Linked DNA regions of Homo sapiens: all the other regions are linked to region 4. Evidence: promoter capture Hi-C in 16 types of primary human blood cells and fetal thymus (Javierre and others, 2016). All regions are on one chromosome and are shown on one strand. The core of a region is centred on a gene start or on the middle of the fragment in contact, and the rest is flanking DNA. Distances in the headings are between cores, read along the strand shown. Region 1 has its middle 25 kb from the start of KHDC1L. Region 2 overlaps C6orf147 (chromosome 6 open reading frame 147). Region 3 overlaps C6orf147 (chromosome 6 open reading frame 147). Region 4 holds the start of KCNQ5 (potassium voltage-gated channel subfamily Q member 5). Region 5 holds the start of DDX43 (DEAD-box helicase 43). Region 6 has its middle 22 kb from the start of C6orf147. Region 7 holds the start of EEF1A1 (eukaryotic translation elongation factor 1 alpha 1).

Region 1 (2,793 bases), core at 268-2,767, 580 kb before region 4:
AATCCCAGCACTTTGGGAGGCCGAGGCGGGCGGATCAGGAGGTCAGGAGATCGAGACCATCCTAGCTAAGACAGTGAAACCCCGTCTCTACTAAAAATATAAAAAATTAGCCGGGCGTGGTGGCGGGCGCCTGTAGTCCCAGCTACTGGGGAGGCTGAGGCAGGAGAATGGCGTGAACCCGGGAGGCGGAGCTTGCAGTGAGCCGAGATCGCGCCACTGCACTCCAGCCTGGGCGGCAGAGCCAGGCTCCGTCTCAAAAAAAAAAAAAAAAAAAAAAAAAAAGAGGAAGAGAGGGTACTGGAAAGTTGTTGGTAACATGGGAGAGGCTTAAGCATACTTATGAGGGGAAAGGGTGAGATGCTGTAGATATGGGGAAGGGGAGGGGCAGCAGGTGACAACCAAGGGCTTGGGAACCCAGAGTGGAAGAGTTAGTTTACCCTAAAGGCAAGGAGTGGCCAGGCGTGGTGGCTCATGCCTGTAATCCCAGCACTTTGGGAGGCTGAGGTGGACGGATCACCTGAGGTCAGGAGTTCAAGACCAGCCTGACCAACATGGTAAAACCCCATCTCTATTAAAAATACAAAAATTAGGCCAGGCGTGGTGGCTAACGCCTGTAATCCCAACACTTTGGGAGGCGGGGGAGGGTGGATGACCTGAGGTCAGGAGTTCAAGACCCAGCCTGGCTAACATGGTGAAACCCCGTCTTTACTAAAAATGCAAAAATTAGGTGGGCATGGTGTTGCATGCCTGTAATCCCAGCTACTCCGGAGGCTGAGGCAGGAGAATTGCTTGAACCCAGGAGGTGGAGGTTGCAGTGAGCTGAGATTGCACCATTGTACTCCAGCCTGGGCAACAAGACCAAAACTCCATCTCAGAAAAATAAAACAACAACAACAACAACAAAAAATAAAACCCCAAAATTAGCCAGGCGTGGTAGCACACACCTGTTATCCCAGCTACTAGGGAGGCTGAGGCAGGAAAATTTCTTGAACCCGAGAGGTTGAGGTTGCAGTGAGCCGAGATCGTGCCACAGTACCCCAGCCTGTCTCAAAAAAAAAAAAAAAAAAAAAAAAAAAAAGAGAGCAAGGAGCTCCCATCCTGGAGTGGGGTTTGCCTCCTCTCCCACCAAGCAAGCAGAGGGATTTCTGGTAGCGGGGGTAGAACTGGGCATTGCAGCATTGGCCAGAGGGCTCAGATGAGGAGCGCCAGTGCCAGCACTTCTGAAAAGCATCTATGTGTTGGGGGTGTGCATGGTGTGATGTCCTCATGGCTTAAGTGAGGGTGAGTGGCACCCTGAGCTGCAGCAAGGGGAGGGTGTGAGTACCTAGTTACTTGGGGGGCACAGGAATGGATAGGGATTGGTGATACAGGAAGTGAGTCACAGCAATGCAGGCAAAGGAACAGAGAAGGAAGAAGCAGCAAGTAATGGAAAGAGATGAGTGTCACCAAAGATAAAAAAAGCTGCTGTGCACGGTGGCTCATGCCTGTAAATCTTAGCACTTTTAGAGACCAAGGCGAGTGGATCCTCTGAGCTCAGGAGTTTGACACCAGCCTGGGCAACATGGTGAAACCTCGTCTCTACTAAAACACAAAAAATTAGCCGGGCATGGTGGTGTACACCTGTAATCCCAGCTACTCAGGAAGCTGAGGCACGAGAATTGCTTGAACCTGGGAGGTAGAGGTTGCAGTGAACTGAGATTGCACCACTGCACTCCAGCCTGGGTGACAGAGAGAGAGACTGTGTCCAAAAACAATCAAACAAAACAAACAAACAAACAAAACCAAAAAAACCTAAAAAAGCATACAAGTGAAAAGTTCTAAAAGTAGGTGCAGGTGTTATGACAGTGTATGGAAACCCTAGAACCCTGATATCTATCCTAGAGCATACTGGACTTAAAATAGTCGCCAACATTGTGACAGAAAAGAAGTAAATCATATGACTAGGCAAAGAGTAATATATCATATCAATGTACCTTTGACCTTCCTATTTATTTGAACAGGAAAGTTTTGCCATTCACCAGTTTTTGTGGTGCTGTGATTTCCAGAGCAGTGCCTAAATCGATAGTTTGTGCATAATGTATCTGCTACGTTTCTGTTTTGAAATGTAGCAAAAACTTCAGTAATTTGGAATTAGGTGGGCTAGAGGGAGAAGTCTTGTCGCAGTTAATGAAAATTTGTTTTATTTAATTAATTAGTTTATTTATTTATTGAGATGGAGTCTCACTCTGTTGCCCAGGCTGGAGTGCAGTGGTGTGATCTCTGCAATCTTGGCTCACTGCAACCTCTGCCTCTCGGGTTCAAGCAATTCTCCTGTCTTAGCCTCCTGAGTAGCTGGGACTATAGGCGCACACCACCACGCCTGGCTGATTTTTGTACTTTTAGTAGAGGTGGGGTTTCACCATATTGGTCAGGCTAGTCTTGAATTCCTGACCTCAGGGGATCCAACTACCTCGGCCTCCCAAAGGGCTGGGATTACAGGCGTGAGCCACTGTGCTCAGCCTATTTTTATTTTAAAAACATTTTTAGATTTCTATTTTGTTTTCAAATCTCAGAGCTGTGTGAGATAAAATTTAAGTTTTTCAAAGAAACAATTTTTACTTGTACCAGATTCTCAAAGCAGTTGAATCTAGACTGATAGAAGTTGTCACTTGAAGATCTGGCAGCCCATTTTCATGAATGGTTAGGATAGAATAACTGTTGTAAGTATATTTTGCTTTAAATGGAAGGAGTGGGAAGTACTGCTAAAGTATTTCCAAAAATGTTTGGAAGCGGTTTAACATTTTTAAGTTGGTC
Region 2 (2,710 bases), core at 8-2,507, 660 kb before region 4:
CTGCCTCAGCCTCCCAAGTAGCTGGGATTACAGGCGCCCATCACCACGCCTGGCTGATTTTTTATATTTTAAGTAGAGACGGAGTTTCACCATGTTGGCAAGGCTGGTCTTGAACTCTTGACCTTCAGGAAATGCTGGGATTACAGGTGTGACCCACTGCACCCAGGTGGTTTTTTGTTTTTTTTTTTGAGAGAGTCTCGTTCTGTCACCCAGGCTGGAGTGCCGTGGCATGAGCTTGGCTCACTGCAACCTCTGCCTCCCAGGTTCAAGTGATTCTCCTGCCTTAGCCTCCTGAGTAGCTGGGATTACAGGTGTGTGCCACCACGCCTGGCTAAATTTCTATTTTTAGTAGAGACAAGGTTTCTCCATGTTAGGCTGGTCTCAAACTCCTGATCTCAGGTGATCCGCCTGCCTTGGCCTCCCAAAGTGCTGGGATTACAGACAGGCACCACCATGCCAGGCTAATTTTTGTATTTTTAGTAGAGACAGGGTTTCCCCATGTTGGCCAGGCTGATCTCAAACTCCTGACCTCAAGTGATTTGCCCTACTTGGTCTCCCAAAGTGTTGGGATTACAGGCGTAAGCCACCATGCCCAGCCAAAACTTCTAAAGGATGTGCTTTAGGAAGAAGATATATGATCACAGAAGGGAGTTCTGGGGAAAATGCAAACTGACAAGATTTAAAAAGCTATTAAAAAAGAAATTAGGTTGGGCATGGTGGCTCACACCTGTAATCCCAGCACTTTGGGAGGCCAAGGTGGACAGGTCACCTGAGGTCTGGAGTTTGAGACCAGCCTGACCAATATGGAGAAACCCCATCGCTACTAAAAATACAAAATTAGCTGTGTGTGGTGGTGCATGCCTGTAATCCCAGCTACTCGGGAGGCTGAGGCAGGAGAATCACTTGAACCTGGGAGGTGGAGGTTGCGGTGAGCCGAGATTATGCCATTGTACTCCAGCCTGGGCAACAAGAGTGAAAAGAAAAAGTCTCAAAAAAAAAAAAAAAAAAAAGAAATTAAAGACCATTGTAATTCACAAATAAATCACATAAAAGGATATGTTTGGCTTGGCATGTTGGGTCATGCCAGTAATCTCAGCACTTTGGGAGGCTGAGGTGGGCTGATTGCTTGAGCCCAGGAGTTCGAGACCAGCCTGGACAACATGGCAAAACCCCATTTCTACAAAAAATAAAATACAAACATTAGCCGAGCATGGTGGTGCATGCCTGTGGTTCCAGCTACTTGGAAGGCTGAGATGGGAGGATCACCTGAGCATGGGTAGGTAGAGGCTGTAGTGAGTTGTGATTGTGCCATTGCACTCCAACCTGGGTGACAGTGAGACTGTCTCCTCAAAAATAAATAAAACAAAAAAGGATATATTTAATCTTTATTAATTTTAATTTGAAGGAGGGTAAATATCTGGGTATTATTTCTTCTATTAAGTGTAGGACTGGCTATCACATTTCTCTAACTATAAAAGTAGAGAAGGATGGATGTAGTAAACTGTGAATAGGCCAAAGGAACGCAGAAAAAGTAGGAACTATACCAAGAACAGGAATGATGAGCAACAATGATGATCACATACAAAATAACAAAATAGAAAGAGGGCCCAACAGTACCTTACAATAATGATGTAATAATACCTCATCTTGGCCGGGCAAGGTGGCTCACGCCTGTAATCCTGGCACTTTGGGAGGCCGAGGTGAGTGGATTGCATAAGCTCAGGAGTTGATCAGCCTGGCAACACAGCAAAACTCTGTCTCTACGAAAAATATAAACATTAGCTGGGTGTGGTGGTGGGTGCCTATAGTCCAAGTTACTTGGGGGACTGAGGCAGGAGGATTGCTCGAGCCTAAGAGGTCAAGGCTGCAGTGAGCCATGTTCGCCACTGCACTCCAGCCTGGGTGACAGCGACACCACATCTCTTCAAAAAAAAAAAAAAAAAAAAAAATCCATGGTCCCATGTTATCATTGAGGCAAATGGAGAAAAAAATTTCAATATATTTTCCCAATTATTAATATGCAATTTTCGCAGACTTTTCTTGATACTGTAGAGCATATAGAGAGATTTATATACAGTCAAATGTCCATATAGTTGACTTGGTTTTTTATTTTCATTTTTATTTTTTGAGACAGGCTCGGTCTGTCACCTAGGCTGGAGCGCGATCTTGGCTCACTGCAGCCTCCACCTCCCAGGTTCAAGCAATTCTCCTGCCTCAGGCTCCCAAGTAGCTGGATTACAGGTGTGCGCCACTATGCCTGGCTAAGTTTTTTGTATTTTTAGTAGAGACGGGGTTTCGTCACGTTGGCCAAGGTGGTCTTGAACTCCTGACTGCAAGTGATCTGCGAGCCTTGGCCTCCCAAAGTGCTGGGATTATAGGCATGAGCCACCATGCCAGATTGACCTGGTTTTTATTCATTAATACCACATGCATTAATTAAGGCTAACTGGTTGATAAATATGCAATCACTGTAACAGTCAATCATCTAGTGTTTAACTGTGTACCTAGGGTCTCAGTAGTAGAAGAATACAGATTTATCATCCATGCCAAAAAGGAGTTTGTAGCCAAGTGTGAGAGAATGTATTCACATGAAAAGTGACAAAGAGGCAGGAAAAACGTTATTTGATGTTCTCACACTGTCCTCATCTGTAAAATTCGTGTACAATAGTGCCCCCTTATCCTTGGGGGATATGGTCTAAGACCTCCAGTG
Region 3 (2,809 bases), core at 231-2,730, 680 kb before region 4:
ATAATGCTCTAATGATTTTATTTAATTAATTAATTAATTTATTTATTTATTGTGAGACAGGGTCTCGCTCTGTCGCCAGGCTGGAGTGCAGTGGCCTGATCTCGGCTCATTGCAACCTCCGCCTCCCGGGTTCAAGCAATTCTCTGCCAGCCTCCCGAGTAGCTGGGATTACAGGCGCCCGGCATCACGCCTGGCTAATTTTTATATTTTTAATAGAGACGGGGTTTCACCATCTTGTCCAGGCTGGTCTTGAACTCCTAACCTCGTGATCCACCCGCCTCAGCCTCCTGGGTGCTGGGATTACAGGCATGAGCCACCTTGCCCGGCTGCTCTAATGGTTATATAATAAATAATTTACATTAGTTTAGTGTTGATCAGTGTTCTTTCCAGGGTAAAAGGAAAAACATTTTCAAAAGGTAGTTGTGTCTTCTCACAGTGTTTGGGGGTTTAAGTGAAAGTTTTATTTTCTCTCTTTCTTCCTGGTCTGTCACCCAGGCTGGAGTGCAGTGGCACAATCTCAACTCACTGCCATCTCTGCCTCCTGGGTTCAAGCGATTCTCCTGCCTCAGTCTCCTGAGTAGCTGGGACTACAGGCGTGCGCCACCACACCTGGCTAATTTTTTTGTATTTTTAGTAGAGACGGGGTTTCACCGTGTTGGCCAGGATGGTCTCGATCTCTTGACCTCGTGATCTGCCTGCCTCGGCCTCCCAAAGTGTTGGGATTGCAGGCATGAGCCACCACGCCCAGCTAAGTGAAAATTTTCTAAATAGTCTTCAACTCCCACCCCCACTGCCCCGGGGCACCAACCCCCACCCCAAGCTAGAAGGAGGGTATTATCTATTCTGGGGAATTCTGTCCAGCAGTCCAGTCAGATGAGGGCATGAAATAGCTCCTTGGTTTGTGAACCACAGGGCTCACTGCTAGCTTTAGCACAAGCAGTTCAGTTGCAGGAGTGAGATTCTCAGAAACCAGGTTGGAGTGAGTTGAAAAATTTAAATGGGGATGCATGTGGAATATGTTTAGTGGACGTTTTTAGTAAGCAGAACTGATGCTCCTGGATGGGAAAACCTGGGTAATTTTTGTTGGGATGGGGAAATAGCTGGGAACGGAGAGGCTGGGGGAAGAGGGAGCTTAATTACTCGGGGTGTCGGGTGAGGGAGGGCAGAGTTGATGCAGTGGGAGGGAGAGTCTAGAGGTAGCAGCCTCCAAGCCCCAGTGAAAGCAGAGGGGTTGTGATTTAGAGCTCTGGTGGAGGGGAGCAGTTTCTGGTAGAAGGAGGAGTATAAGTAGGAGCAGGAGGCAGGAAGGGTGAGGATTCAGGGAGCTATATGGAAAGATTCATTCTGGTTGAAGATAAAGAATACTCATTTTGTTTAATCCCTGATTACTTAATTTATGACTACTAATTAACATTTCCGCAATAAAAACACTAAATGCATATGTACCTGCTTTCATAACTAATAACCCAAAACTTACAGACTTAAAAATATAATTTGCTCAATTTAAAAATAATCAGAGGCCAGGCGTGGTGGCTCACACCTGTAATTCCATCACTTTGGGAGGCCAAGGTGGGCAGATCACTTGAGGTCAGGAGTTCAAGACCATCCTGGCCAACATGGTGAACCCCGTCTCTACTAAAAATACAAAAATTAGCGGGGTGTGGTGGCGGGCTCCTGTAATCCCAGCTACTTGGGAACCTGAGGCAGGAGAATCACTTGAACCCAGGAGGTGGAGGTTGCAGTGAGCCAAGATCGTGCCACTGCACTCCAGCCTGGGTGACAGAGTGAGACTATGTCTCAAAAAATAATAATAATTAAATCAAAATCCAATATATTATATTCTCTTAAATGCTAAAAACTTTTAAAAGTAGCTAGAATATCTTAAAAATTTATTTGTTAACCTTTGAGGGCTTGCTCAAGTGCCAGGTCCTTTCTGTTTTGGATGTGTGCTCTTCTTCAATATTCAAAGAAGCCCATGAGATTGGTTCTCTGATTACTGCCTTGAATTTCAGACACAGAGAAACTAAAAAACTTATCTAAAGTCACTCATCCAGTAAATGGAAAAGTTGAGGTTTGAATCTTGGCTCTTATGCTATGTTGTCTCCTTATGATTGTAGTGAATACAAAATAGATAACAGTTTCATTGAAACCAGTTTAAGAAAGGCGAATTCCATGACTTCAAATTTGTTTCTTTATTATCTCTCTCTATATTTTTTATATTATATATATATTTTTGAGATGGAGTCTTGCTCTGTCACTTAGGCAGGCTGGAGTGCAGTAGCGCAATCTTGGCTCACTGCAACCTCTGCTTCCCAGGTTCAAGCAATTTTCGTGCCTCAGCCTCCCGAGAAGCTGAGATTACAGGAGTCTGCCACCATGCCCAGCTAATTTTTGTATTTTTAGTATAGATGAAGTTTCACCATATTGGCCAGGCTGGTCTTGAACCCCTGACCTCAGGTGATCTGCCCACCTCAGCCTCCCAAAGTGCTTGGATTACAAGTGTGAAGCACTGCATCTGGCTTCTATACTTATTTTAATACTGGAATGGGATGCAATTTGTTATATATGTTCCCAGAATTGCAAAAATATTACCAGGATATATCTTGATACTTTGGGTTTTAGTAGTTTTCAAAGACCTCCAAAGAAAACGCATCCCAGACCAGCTATGTTGGTGACTGATAGATTCAGAAAGGAAACTGGACCTTGTTTCACAGTCCAGTTCTGTGAAACCTGAGCCAATTATTAGGCTAAGTCTAGCAATCCACTCATTATGTTGCCAACCTTTTCTTTGATTTTACTTAATTTTTGT
Region 4 (2,700 bases), core at 45-2,544:
CACTGCCCGATCTCTGTCAGAGGCGACCCATTTGCGCTTCTGCTATCGCACCTCCGCCCGCGTTCCTGCGCCCCAGGTTCCCCGCTGCCTCCCCGCCCCCTGCAGCGCGGGAGCGTTGCTTCGCCTGGCCTGCTGGCCTCCTCTAGACCTTGGCCACCTTCTCCGTGGCAGGAAGGGCTACATGCACTGACAGATTTTCCGTTGGTGGTGGCTGGGTGGTGGCGAGGCGTGTTTCCGGGCGCGCTTAAAACCTAGCAGCTCTCTCCAAGTAGCAGCTTCCCCTACTCCGCCCCTAGGACTGAGGACCTAGCCCTCGATGCCCCCTCACTTCTCCCCGTCCTACCCCGCCATCACCTCCTAACCTCTCCAGTATACTCTCAAGCCTCACACGGGCGCCTGTCCTCCCTTTGCATTCCCTAGCTCCCGGGCGCCCCGTTCGGTTGAAGTTTACGTATCTTGGGACCTAATTGCTCCCAATTATCCGCGCAGCCTAAGTCCCGCGTCTGCCTGGCTCTCGCCCCGGGAGCCTGAAGCTACCGGGCAGTTCATTGGGTGTCCTCGGGGAAAAGGTTCAAGCTGTAGAGATGAGAGAAGTGGGGCTGGGGGAGGGGAGAGGCTCCAGAAGGAAGACCACGAACACGTGCGAAGAAATAAAAGCCACCACGTGTGCACGCGCGCGGGGGCCCAAGGGCGCGAGCGCGGAGCACGCCCCAGGGGGCCAGGGACAGTGGTCCCCTGCAGCGGGCATAGCAGGGGGCGCGGGTACTCACACGAAAGCGTGGTAGATGAACGCCCAGCCGCGGGGTCTCTCCAGCACGTTGTACAGGTAGTTCTGCACCCGCCGGTACTTGACGTTGCGCCGGCAGCTCTGGCTACTCGTGTAAGAGAGCGGCTTCCCCAGCAGGCTCATCCGGGCCCCCTGCTTGCCCCGGCGGCTCTCCCTCAGGCCACCGCCGCCGCCACCGAGCGTGGCCGCGCGGGTGCCCAGCAGTAGCAGGCCGTCGCCCCTGGCGGCTGCCGAGTTCAGCAGCACCCTGCCCCGGCCGGACTCCACATCCTTCATGCCGCTGCCCAAGCGCCCCCCGCCCGCCGCCGCCGCCGCTGCGCCGCTCTTCACCCAGAGCCCGGCGGCGCCGCCCTCCTCTCCTCCCGCGTGGTGGCGGGGCATGGCATCACCACGGGCACCGCGAGGGGGCCGCCAGCGCCTGCGGCGGGGGCAGCGGCCTCATGTGCGCCGGCGGGTTTCAAGGAGGAAGCCGGCGGCCGACGGGGCGCCCGCCAGCCAGAGACCTCTGAGCCGGGGGCGGGGAAGCAGGCAGCCAGCAAACCGCCCGGGCTTCGGGGCGGGAAAGGAGGGGCTGCAGAGGAGGCCGAGGAGTCCCAATTTCTAACAGCCTTTAGCTTCGAATTCTAAATCCGGACCTGTTTGGGGCGTCACTTTGAGAGGGTTTCTCTTGCTCCCTCATTCCCGCGACTACCACTCCCTCCTTCCCAAACTGCCCCCGGGGATAGAGTGGGGGAGTGCGGGGCGCTCCGAGGCGCGCTCCCACGCGCGCACACCCAGCCCCAGGCTTCCCCTTCCCTCTCTCCACTCCCCACGCCCTGCAGCGAAACGGCCCCAGAAGCCCCTCTCCGAGGCGCGAGTTCGGTTTGGTTCTGGCAGGGGCTTTGCAGCTGTCCGGAAGGTGAAGTCAGCCTTGTGTCCTGAGGAGAAACTGGAGATGCAGGTCGCTGTGCCCTCCCGCTGCTACGTCGCTGCGCCGGATCCTGCCATCCTTCCGCAAGGGGTGAGAGCGGGAACAGCCCTGCCCTGCCTTCCAGGTATTATCTAGCCTGGAGGCTGGAGCGCAAGGTAACGCTCCGGGAAGTGGCACTCGGGTCCCCGCACACGGGCGAGTCCTCAGCAGTTCAGTGGACAGACCCGCAGGACGCGGCTGCCAAGTCCGCGAGGCAAGGACCAGGCATCTTCCCGCGCCTCACTCCAGCCTGCGGACTGTGACTTTCCATCCCAGTATCAGACAAGCTCGCGAGTAACTGAACATCCTTTCCAGTCCATGGGTGGGGTGTGGAAAGGGCGTAAAACTCCAAAGTGGCTCCTCCGCGGTGAGCGAGCTGCCCCGGGGCTCTGCCTGACTGCAGCGCGAAGCCTGGGAGAACAAACCCAGTTCCCTCCGTCAAGAAATTTCCATTTAAGTCCGAGAAAGTCATATGATTGAGAAGTTCAGCAGCGGCGGCGAGGACCCAGTGTCTGGGAAAGAACACCTGGAGGATGGGGTGTCCAGGACGCCGGCTTTTCGGGGTTCCGACCCCACCCACCTTATGTTGTAACATACAAGCTTAGAGACCTGTTGCAAGGAACAACTGACTGGGTCTTCCACCACCCCTGGCACCCGGGTGGCCCAAAGCCTATGCGCCCTTGGCGGAGAGAGAGGCCACGGTGCCACTGGCCGCAGCCTCTGGCCTTCAGAAACAGTGTATTACAAAGAAAAGGCAGTTTAAATCTCACATTCAGCATAGGGAAAACTGAAGGGTGCCAGGCTCGGGGACTTCTTCCAACAGAGTGGCTCTTCCCCAAATATGAAAGAAAATCATCAAATTAAATTGAAGGCAAAACTAAGCTTCCACCACAAAGACATAGCAGATAGTTGCAAGGTGGATTCCTTCGGGCCTTTTCCTTTCCTAAGGCTAAAACAATGCTAA
Region 5 (2,751 bases), core at 42-2,541, 770 kb before region 4:
GGTGTGGTGGCGCACGTAATTTCAGCTACTAGGGAGGCTGAGGTGCTAGAATCGCTTGAGCCCGGGAGGTGGAAGTTGTAGTGAGCCGAGATCACGCCACACTGCACTCCAGCTGGGGCCACAGAGCTGCCTCAAAAAAAAAAAAAATCAAAAGAAAGAAAAAAATTAAAAATTCAGAATTGAATGTTAACACTCAAGATGTAGTAAGAAAAGTTTTTAACTTTTTAAAAATTAAGGAAACTAAAAGCAAGATACAACTGCTCTAGGCAGCCCTACAATGACCTTATAGCTTTTCTTTGATTTCTGGCTCTAAATGGTACTCATAGAAAGACTGATTAAGTTTTGTTTTTCATTCTGGGGTTAGCTGTCTGTTAAAAGGCCTGTTCTAAGCATCCCTCTTCAGCCCTAAGATTTCATAAGTCTTCTAGGAGTTGCTCTCCCAAATACATTGTCTGTATAAACACCAAAAGGTGGATTAAATTACTTTTTTTTTTTTTTTTTAATTGAGACGGAGTCTTGCTCTGTCACCTAGGCTGGAGTGCAGTGGCGCGATCTCAGCTCACTGCCAACTTCTGCCGCCGGGTTCAAGCCATTCTCCTGCCTCAGCCTCCGGAGTATCTGGGATTACAGGCGCGCGCCACCACGCCCAGCTATTTTTTTTAATATATATATTTTTAGTAGAGACAGGGTTTTGCCATGTTGGCCAAGCTGGTCTCGAATTCCTGACCTGGGGTGATCCGCCCGCCTCGGCCTCCCAAAATACTGGGATTACAGGCGTGAGCCAACGCGCCCGGCCAGATTAAATTATACTCTATCCCCAGGTTTTACAAATAGCTCTGGGAGAGACCTGAACCTCACTAGGTGGCAGCTGATTGGAGGTGAGGCAGTGGGGAGGAAATGCCTTCGCCCAGGCTCCGCCCCTGGCCCCACCTATCCTGCCCTGCCAGCCACTCCCATTCTCACCGATTACCGCGCCAACAAAGTGGCTCTTCAAAGCAAAACACAGCGGCAGTTCCTCGTGACCAGCGGCCACGGCCTCCGGGGGCCTAGAGGTGCCTCTCCAGCGACCACCTCTGCCGACACTATATCCCTCAGGACCTGTTCGATTCAACTCCTCCGCCGGCCTCCTCTCTGGCGCTCGGGACACTGTCGAGCTTCGCCGACTAGCAACGACCCACGTAGAGGCCTTGGGAGCTCCTCCGTGGTGGGACATTGTTCCAAGAAGGGGCGCGTCCGACGTCGTTGCCGTCCAGCTCTGCACCACCTGACCGTGACGTCGTAAGAGTAGCGTGCCAGGGAAGCCACGCAGCCGCTACTTAAGGAGCCCGCACGAGGCTAGCCCCCCCGCCCACGCTCTCTATCCCGCCCACTTCGCACTGATTTCACGCAGCCATTGGCCAGTGAGCGTTGTGGGCGGGACTTTCCCAGTTTTAGCCAATCGGTTTTCTGAACCGTGGGAGTGTGCCTTGAAGTAGTCGATGTGCCCCGCCCCCCACCCCCCCACTGTGTATTCCTTTCCAGGCGTGGGACTTTTTCCAAACGCCCAATTTGCTCCCTCCCCTACTGGACACACACCTCGGGTTCCTGGCATCTCAGTGCCTTGGAAACTTTTTTTTTTCTTTTTAAATAGAGACGGGGTGTCGCCGTGTTGCCCAGGCAGGTCTTGAACTCTTGGCTTCTGGCTTCAAGTGATCTTCCAGCCTCGGCCTCCCAAAGTGCTGGGATTACAGTCAGCCACTGCACCGGAAATGTTTTCAACCGTGACCCATAAAGGTAAGTCACTGTTACAAGGTGACCCAATCCACACATAAAAAACTTGAAACAACAGATTGACAAAACAGCATTTATCCTCGCTATGTAAGCTGCATTTTGATACATTTACGCTTATTTTAGTTTTTGAAATGGTTGTAATCCACAAAATTAAAAAAAAAAAATTTAATAGAGATGGGAGTTCCCAGTATGTTGCCCAAGGCTGGTCTTGAACTCCTGGACTCAAGTGATCCTCCCACCTCCACCTCCCATAGTGCTGGGGTTACAGGCCTGAGCCACTGCACTCGGCTCACAAAATGTATTTAATGGCCCACAGCTTAAAGATCACTGACTTGATCCTTTTGTAAGTCATAAGTGTGATTGGGTTTTCATGCTCTTGTGTCAAATGTGCCTCCCTCAAACCTTGTTACGAAGTGGGCACACTACCCACCTGATGTGAAAAATGAAGAGAAAAAGATCACTGGCTTGAGAGACATTCATTGCTCTACACAGTCTTCTGGATGTTTGCTATGTTTTTTTTGTTTGTTTTCTTTTGTTTTGTTTTTGACCTCTGTCGCCTAGGCTGGAGTGCAGTGGTGCGATCACTCACTGCAGATTCGACCTGTTGGACTCAAGTGATACTCCCACCACAGCCTCCCGAATAGTTGGGACTACAGGTGTGCACCACCATGCCAGGCTAATTATTTTGTAAAGACAAGACCTCCCTATGTTGCCCGGGCTGGTATCCAACTCCTCCTGCCTTGGCCTCACACAGTTGAGGGATTACAGGTATGAGCCACAGTGCCTGGCCTGCCATAATTTTAGAGCTAAGGAAATAAATTGAATAGATTCCTGAAGCATTACCGTCACTGCAGCCTGGCTCTGTGGCTGGACATACTACTACTCCAGGGCTTCAAGCCAGCTGCAAGTGCACTCCTTTGATTAGGATCTTTGAATTATCTGAACAAATTTCAGTTTAGGCCAGCAGGGATAACTCATACC
Region 6 (2,700 bases), core at 35-2,534, 710 kb before region 4:
ATGTAGGATATGTTTATGGTTTTCATAACCAATTTTACTAAATATGAGTACATTGAGCACCAGAATGTCTGTACCAGTCTTCGTTTCTGCCAAAAATGCATTGTGTCAGTTTCTTCCCATTCTCAAAATTTTCATATACCCAGTTTTTTTGGTCAGACTGTATGAATAAAATAGTATCTTATTTTGTTATTTTTCACTCTTTTTATCACCCCCATTTAAATTTGGTGCCAAGAACTGAGGCAATTGCAGGAGTTGCTGATGGCCTCGCAAATCTTAACCCTGTCACTTGGGTTAAGACCATCGGAAGTACTACGATTGTAAATCTCATATTAATCCTTGTGTGCCTGTTTTGTCTGTTGTGGCTCTTGCACAGATTTTTCTTGCGTTGCCTTTTCTTTTCCGTATCTACTACCACTTTCTTAGGTCAGGCTCTTAACACTCATTTTGAATTCAGCAATTGATGTTTTGATCTAACTGTTTTCTCTGCCTCCATATTTAGCCCCATCATAACTCTATTTCACATTGCCACCAAATCTGATTGTGAAATCCCCTTAAATCATTCAGTGGCACTGACATCCGAGCCTTACAGGATAAAATCTAACCTCCTCAGCATCACGCTATATTGAAATTATTTAAATACCCACTTACCTTCCAATGGCTGGAAAGCACAGAGACAGGAACCCTGTCTAATCATTTTTGCAGCCTGGCACATAACATGATTTCTCTCAAAAGCATTCACTTTATCTCTTGAACTGAATCCTTGCTCTTTTTCTTCTTGCCTGCTTTGTGCTTCCACCACATCCACTCTGCTGGCCTGGGCCATCTTGCTGGTGTCCTTTTCAAGACAACAAACGATGGCTCCAATCTGGTCCACAGGAAGCAGCTGCCTTTGCTCCTCTTTTCATGGACGTGTAACCTCTTCTCACTGAAGACACTTCTTGCTTGTGGGAGCTAGGGTAGCTGGCCAGCCTCTTGCCTTAGGACTAGTTAGGCATGGGTCAGTTACCAGCCTCCCCATTCCCAAATTCTAGAGGACACAGGGCAAGCTCTCTGAGTGGTACTTCTGAAGCTCTCTACACTTGTCTTTATCAAATCTCTACCAGTGATCAAGCTTCCCTTTTATACCCACAAGGTGGGCAATGGGCTGAAGCTTGTCTTACCTACTATCATTTTTTAAAAAATAGATTTGTGTGTGTGTGTGTGTGTGTGTGTGTTTGTTTTGTTTTGTTTTAGACTGAGTCTTGCTCCATCGCCCAGGCTGGAGTGCAGTGGTGCGATTTTGGCTCACTGCAACCTCTGCCTCCTGGGTTCAAGCGATTCTCCTGCCTCAGCCCCTTGAGTAGCTGGGATTACAGGCACTTGCCACCACGCCTGGCTAATTTTTATATTTTTAGTAGAGACATACCCAGCCAAGCTTTCATACTAAGTCTTGAAGTGAGATATTGTCAGTCCTCTGACTTTGGTTTTTCTGTGCCTTATTGTTGTAACCTGCATTTCCCAGCAGTTAGGTATATTATCTGATATACTTGTAAGTCATTTATTTTCCCTTTCTGTGAATTACCTAATCATGTTCTTTGGCCATTATTTTATGGGGATCCAGATCCTGTTTTTGTTTATTTGCAAGGATTCCTTCCATGGTTTACATATCAATGTCTTTTAGTTTAGTTGTGTGTGTGTGTGTGTGTGTGTGTGTGTGTGTGTCTGTGTGTATTACAAGTATCTTCTTCAAATCTGTCACCCATTTGTTAACTTTGTGATGTCAATTGTTGAAAAGAAATCCTTAAATATTAGGTATTTGGGAGATACTTATACAATTTAACTGAGCATCTTATATTTTACCTGCCAACCTTAACTATGAAGTTTTCCTTCCATTCCATATCCTCTTATTTTCATGGGTTTGCTATGAAGGATTGTTTCTGTTGTTGTGTTTTTCTACATGTTGTAAATAGCCAACTTTCTTCATTTTTAGTTAGGGACTAAGTCCATGGTAGAGAGATAATCAGCCAATTCTTTTTGGTCATCTTTTTCTTTTCTTTCTTCTTTCTCAAGATGGGGTCTTACTCTGTCACCCAGGCTGGCGTGCAGTGGCACAGTCATAGCTCACTATAGCTTTGAACTCCTGAGCAGAAGAGATTCTCTTGCCTCTACCTCCCAATTAGCTGGAACTGTAGGTACATGCCATCTCACTTGACTAATTTTTTATTTTATTTTTATTTTTATGAGAAGGAGTCTCAGTCTGTCACGCAGGCTGGAATGCAGTGGTGCAATCTCAGCTCACTGCAGCCTCCGCCTCCTGGGTTCAAATGATTCTTGTGTCTCAGCCTCCTGAATAGCTGGGAGGCGTGTGCCACCATGCCCAGCTAATTTTTTTTTTTTTTTGTATTTTTAGTAGAGATGAAGTTTTGCCATGTTAGTCAGGCTGGTCTTGAATTCCTGGCCTCAAGTGATCCCCCTGCCTCAGCCTCCCAAAGTGTTGGGATTACAGGTGTGAATCACCACTCCCGGCCAAAGATTGAACATCTGACCACAGGGTTTTTTTGTTGTTGTTTTTTGTTTTTTAATTTTCTAAATCCTTTTAGTTGTTCTGGACAAACCAGTATAAGATGGAAACTTAAGTAGTACACATGAGTTTTATAATTTATCCATCTCTGGCAGATAGCTAAACATAGCACATCAGAGCATAACACAATGTGAGGCAAA
Region 7 (2,714 bases), core at 103-2,602, 900 kb before region 4:
GAAGCTGGGCAATGATATTCTACAGCTGGAAGAAGAAACATAATGATCTAGTAATTAGCTCATTAAAAATAAACGTTCTTCTTTCCTCAGAGGAGCATTTCCCAAGGCCTGCCTTGATAGCCATCCAAAAAGGCCAAGCTCATCCAATCTTGCCCTAGATTTATGCTAAAATGCAGTTACAATCGATAGGATGACAGAAAACGACAGCACTTATTTAAATATAATAGGCACTTATTTAAATAGGAGAAGCTGTGACTTCATAGCAAGTGTTGGGGTTAGGAAACTGGGTGGATAAACTTGCTGATGCTGTAGATCTTAGCCTCTACATGAGATCATGTGGAAAATCTGAAAGCATTTTAGGTTCCTTATGTTTGCAATCAAATAACTGTACACCTTTTAATTTAAAAAGTACCATGAGGCACACACACACACTCGCAGGAACTTTTTGGCGTAACAAAACTAGAATTAGATCTAAAGCTAACTGTAGGACTGAGTCTATTCTAAACTGAAAGCCTGGACATCTGGAGTACCAGGGGGAGATGACGTGTTACGGGCTTCCATAAAAGCAGCTGGCTTTGAATGGAAGGAGCCAAGAGGCCAGCACAGGAGCGGATTCGTCGCTTTCACGGCCATCGAGCCGAACCTCTCGCAAGTCCGTGAGCCGTTAAGGAGGCCCCCAGTCCCGACCCTTCGCCCCAAGCCCCTCGGGGTCCCCGGGCCTGGTACTCCTTGCCACACGGGAGGGGCGCGGAAGCCGGGGCGGAGGAGGAGCCAACCCCGGGCTGGGCTGAGACCCGCAGAGGAAGACGCTCTAGGGATTTGTCCCGGACTAGCGAGATGGCAAGGCTGAGGACGGGAGGCTGATTGAGAGGCGAAGGTACACCCTAATCTCAATACAACCTTTGGAGCTAAGCCAGCAATGGTAGAGGGAAGATTCTGCACGTCCCTTCCAGGCGGCCTCCCCGTCACCACCCCCCCCAACCCGCCCCGACCGGAGCTGAGAGTAATTCATACAAAAGGACTCGCCCCTGCCTTGGGGAATCCCAGGGACCGTCGTTAAACTCCCACTAACGTAGAACCCAGAGATCGCTGCGTTCCCGCCCCCTCACCCGCCCGCTCTCGTCATCACTGAGGTGGAGAAGAGCATGCGTGAGGCTCCGGTGCCCGTCAGTGGGCAGAGCGCACATCGCCCACAGTCCCCGAGAAGTTGGGGGGAGGGGTCGGCAATTGAACCGGTGCCTAGAGAAGGTGGCGCGGGGTAAACTGGGAAAGTGATGTCGTGTACTGGCTCCGCCTTTTTCCCGAGGGTGGGGGAGAACCGTATATAAGTGCAGTAGTCGCCGTGAACGTTCTTTTTCGCAACGGGTTTGCCGCCAGAACACAGGTAAGTGCCGTGTGTGGTTCCCGCGGGCCTGGCCTCTTTACGGGTTATGGCCCTTGCGTGCCTTGAATTACTTCCACGCCCCTGGCTGCAGTACGTGATTCTTGATCCCGAGCTTCGGGTTGGAAGTGGGTGGGAGAGTTCGAGGCCTTGCGCTTAAGGAGCCCCTTCGCCTCGTGCTTGAGTTGAGGCCTGGCTTGGGCGCTGGGGCCGCCGCGTGCGAATCTGGTGGCACCTTCGCGCCTGTCTCGCTGCTTTCGATAAGTCTCTAGCCATTTAAAATTTTTGATGACCTGCTGCGACGCTTTTTTTCTGGCAAGATAGTCTTGTAAATGCGGGCCAAGATCTGCACACTGGTATTTCGGTTTTTGGGGCCGCGGGCGGCGACGGGGCCCGTGCGTCCCAGCGCACATGTTCGGCGAGGCGGGGCCTGCGAGCGCGGCCACCGAGAATCGGACGGGGGTAGTCTCAAGCTGGCCGGCCTGCTCTGGTGCCTGGCCTCGCGCCGCCGTGTATCGCCCCGCCCTGGGCGGCAAGGCTGGCCCGGTCGGCACCAGTTGCGTGAGCGGAAAGATGGCCGCTTCCCGGCCCTGCTGCAGGGAGCTCAAAATGGAGGACGCGGCGCTCGGGAGAGCGGGCGGGTGAGTCACCCACACAAAGGAAAAGGGCCTTTCCGTCCTCAGCCGTCGCTTCATGTGACTCCACGGAGTACCGGGCGCCGTCCAGGCACCTCGATTAGTTCTCGAGCTTTTGGAGTACGTCGTCTTTAGGTTGGGGGGAGGGGTTTTATGCGATGGAGTTTCCCCACACTGAGTGGGTGGAGACTGAAGTTAGGCCAGCTTGGCACTTGATGTAATTCTCCTTGGAATTTGCCCTTTTTGAGTTTGGATCTTGGTTCATTCTCAAGCCTCAGACAGTGGTTCAAAGTTTTTTTCTTCCATTTCAGGTGTCGTGAAAACTACCCCTAAAAGCCAAAATGGGAAAGGAAAAGACTCATATCAACATTGTCGTCATTGGACACGTAGATTCGGGCAAGTCCACCACTACTGGCCATCTGATCTATAAATGCGGTGGCATCGACAAAAGAACCATTGAAAAATTTGAGAAGGAGGCTGCTGAGGTATGTTTAATACCAGAAAGGGAAAGATCAACTAAAATGAGTTTTACCAGCAGAATCATTAGGTGATTTCCCCAGAACTAGTGAGTGGTTTAGATCTGAATGCTAATAGTTAAGACCTTACTTATGAAATAATTTTGCTTTTGGTGACTTCTGTAATCGTATTGCTAGTGAGTAGATTTGGATGTTAATAGTTAAGATCCGACTTATAAAAGT

What was found. Contacts are between HindIII fragments. The CHiCAGO score rates a contact against its expected background, and 5 or more counts as called.
Region 1: a contact is called between a fragment that was not itself captured here and the fragment with the promoter of KCNQ5 in region 4, in 3 of 17 cell types (M2 macrophages, total B cells and M0 macrophages). The highest score is 9.7, in M2 macrophages.
Region 2: a fragment that was not itself captured here is called in contact with the fragment with the promoter of KCNQ5 in region 4 in 1 of 17 cell types (fetal thymus); the score reaches 5.9 in fetal thymus.
Region 3: a fragment that was not itself captured here is called in contact with the fragment with the promoter of KCNQ5 in region 4 in 5 of 17 cell types (fetal thymus, naive CD4 T cells, total CD4 T cells and 2 more); the score reaches 9.3 in fetal thymus.
Region 5: a contact is called between the fragment with the promoter of DDX43 here and the fragment with the promoter of KCNQ5 in region 4, in 1 of 17 cell types (naive CD8 T cells). The highest score is 5.6, in naive CD8 T cells.
Region 6: a contact is called between a fragment that was not itself captured here and the fragment with the promoter of KCNQ5 in region 4, in 1 of 17 cell types (total CD8 T cells). The highest score is 6.2, in total CD8 T cells.
Region 7: the fragment with the promoter of EEF1A1 here is called in contact with the fragment with the promoter of KCNQ5 in region 4 in 4 of 17 cell types (naive CD8 T cells, non-activated CD4 T cells, activated CD4 T cells and 1 more); the score reaches 9.8 in naive CD8 T cells.

The regions. Positions count from the first base shown.
Region 1 is chr6:73,199,550-73,202,342 of GRCh38, reverse strand. No RefSeq gene overlaps it. Among named protein-coding and RNA genes, the nearest start is that of KHDC1L, 25 kb to the left of the region's middle. The HindIII fragment of the contact is 6,966 bases long and covers 1-2,793 here.
Region 2 is chr6:73,278,815-73,281,524 of GRCh38, reverse strand. All of the region lies in intron 3 of C6orf147 (chromosome 6 open reading frame 147), which reads left to right. The region is part of intron 2 of LOC122539213 (KHDC1-KHDC1L); the gene reads left to right. It also overlaps a transcript of KHDC1 not described here and the pseudogene KHDC1-AS1. Among named protein-coding and RNA genes, the nearest start is that of KHDC1, 17 kb to the right of the region's middle. The HindIII fragment of the contact is 6,698 bases long and covers 1-2,710 here.
Region 3 is chr6:73,304,668-73,307,476 of GRCh38, reverse strand. The region is part of intron 2 of C6orf147 (chromosome 6 open reading frame 147); the gene reads left to right. All of the region lies in intron 1 of LOC122539213 (KHDC1-KHDC1L), which reads left to right. It also overlaps a transcript of KHDC1 not described here. Among named protein-coding and RNA genes, the nearest start is that of C6orf147, 4.3 kb to the left of the region's middle. RefSeq lists an enhancer at 1-89. The HindIII fragment of the contact is 7,042 bases long and covers 1-2,809 here.
Region 4 is chr6:72,620,658-72,623,357 of GRCh38, reverse strand. It overlaps KCNQ5 (potassium voltage-gated channel subfamily Q member 5), which reads right to left and starts at 1,294. Exons shown (of 14, transcript NM_019842.4): 1 at 771-1,294. The coding sequence starts at 1,168. KCNQ5-DT (KCNQ5 divergent transcript) reads left to right here and starts at 679. Exons shown (of 3, transcript NR_186827.1): 1 at 679-826. RefSeq lists silencers at 1-9, 1,040-1,299 and an enhancer at 1-609. The HindIII fragment of the contact is 6,363 bases long and covers 1-2,338 here.
Region 5 is chr6:73,393,368-73,396,118 of GRCh38, reverse strand. It overlaps DDX43 (DEAD-box helicase 43), which reads right to left and starts at 1,291. Exons shown (of 17, transcript NM_018665.3): 1 at 964-1,291. The coding sequence starts at 1,213. It overlaps LOC124901538 (small nucleolar RNA U13), which reads left to right and starts at 2,106; the gene lies at 2,106-2,206. It also overlaps a transcript of OOEP not described here. RefSeq lists an enhancer at 1,174-1,674. The HindIII fragment of the contact is 12,904 bases long and covers 1-2,751 here.
Region 6 is chr6:73,330,918-73,333,617 of GRCh38, reverse strand. It overlaps the pseudogene PAICSP3. Among named protein-coding and RNA genes, the nearest start is that of C6orf147, 22 kb to the right of the region's middle. The HindIII fragment of the contact is 264 bases long and covers 1,153-1,416 here.
Region 7 is chr6:73,519,670-73,522,383 of GRCh38, reverse strand. EEF1A1 (eukaryotic translation elongation factor 1 alpha 1) reads left to right here and starts at 1,352. Exons shown (of 8, transcript NM_001402.6): 1 at 1,352-1,384; 2 at 2,328-2,501. The coding sequence starts at 2,358. RefSeq lists a silencer at 595-824 and enhancers at 547-1,369, 1,405-1,484, 1,535-1,644, 1,370-2,191, 1,935-2,234 and 1 more. The HindIII fragment of the contact is 5,848 bases long and covers 1-2,714 here.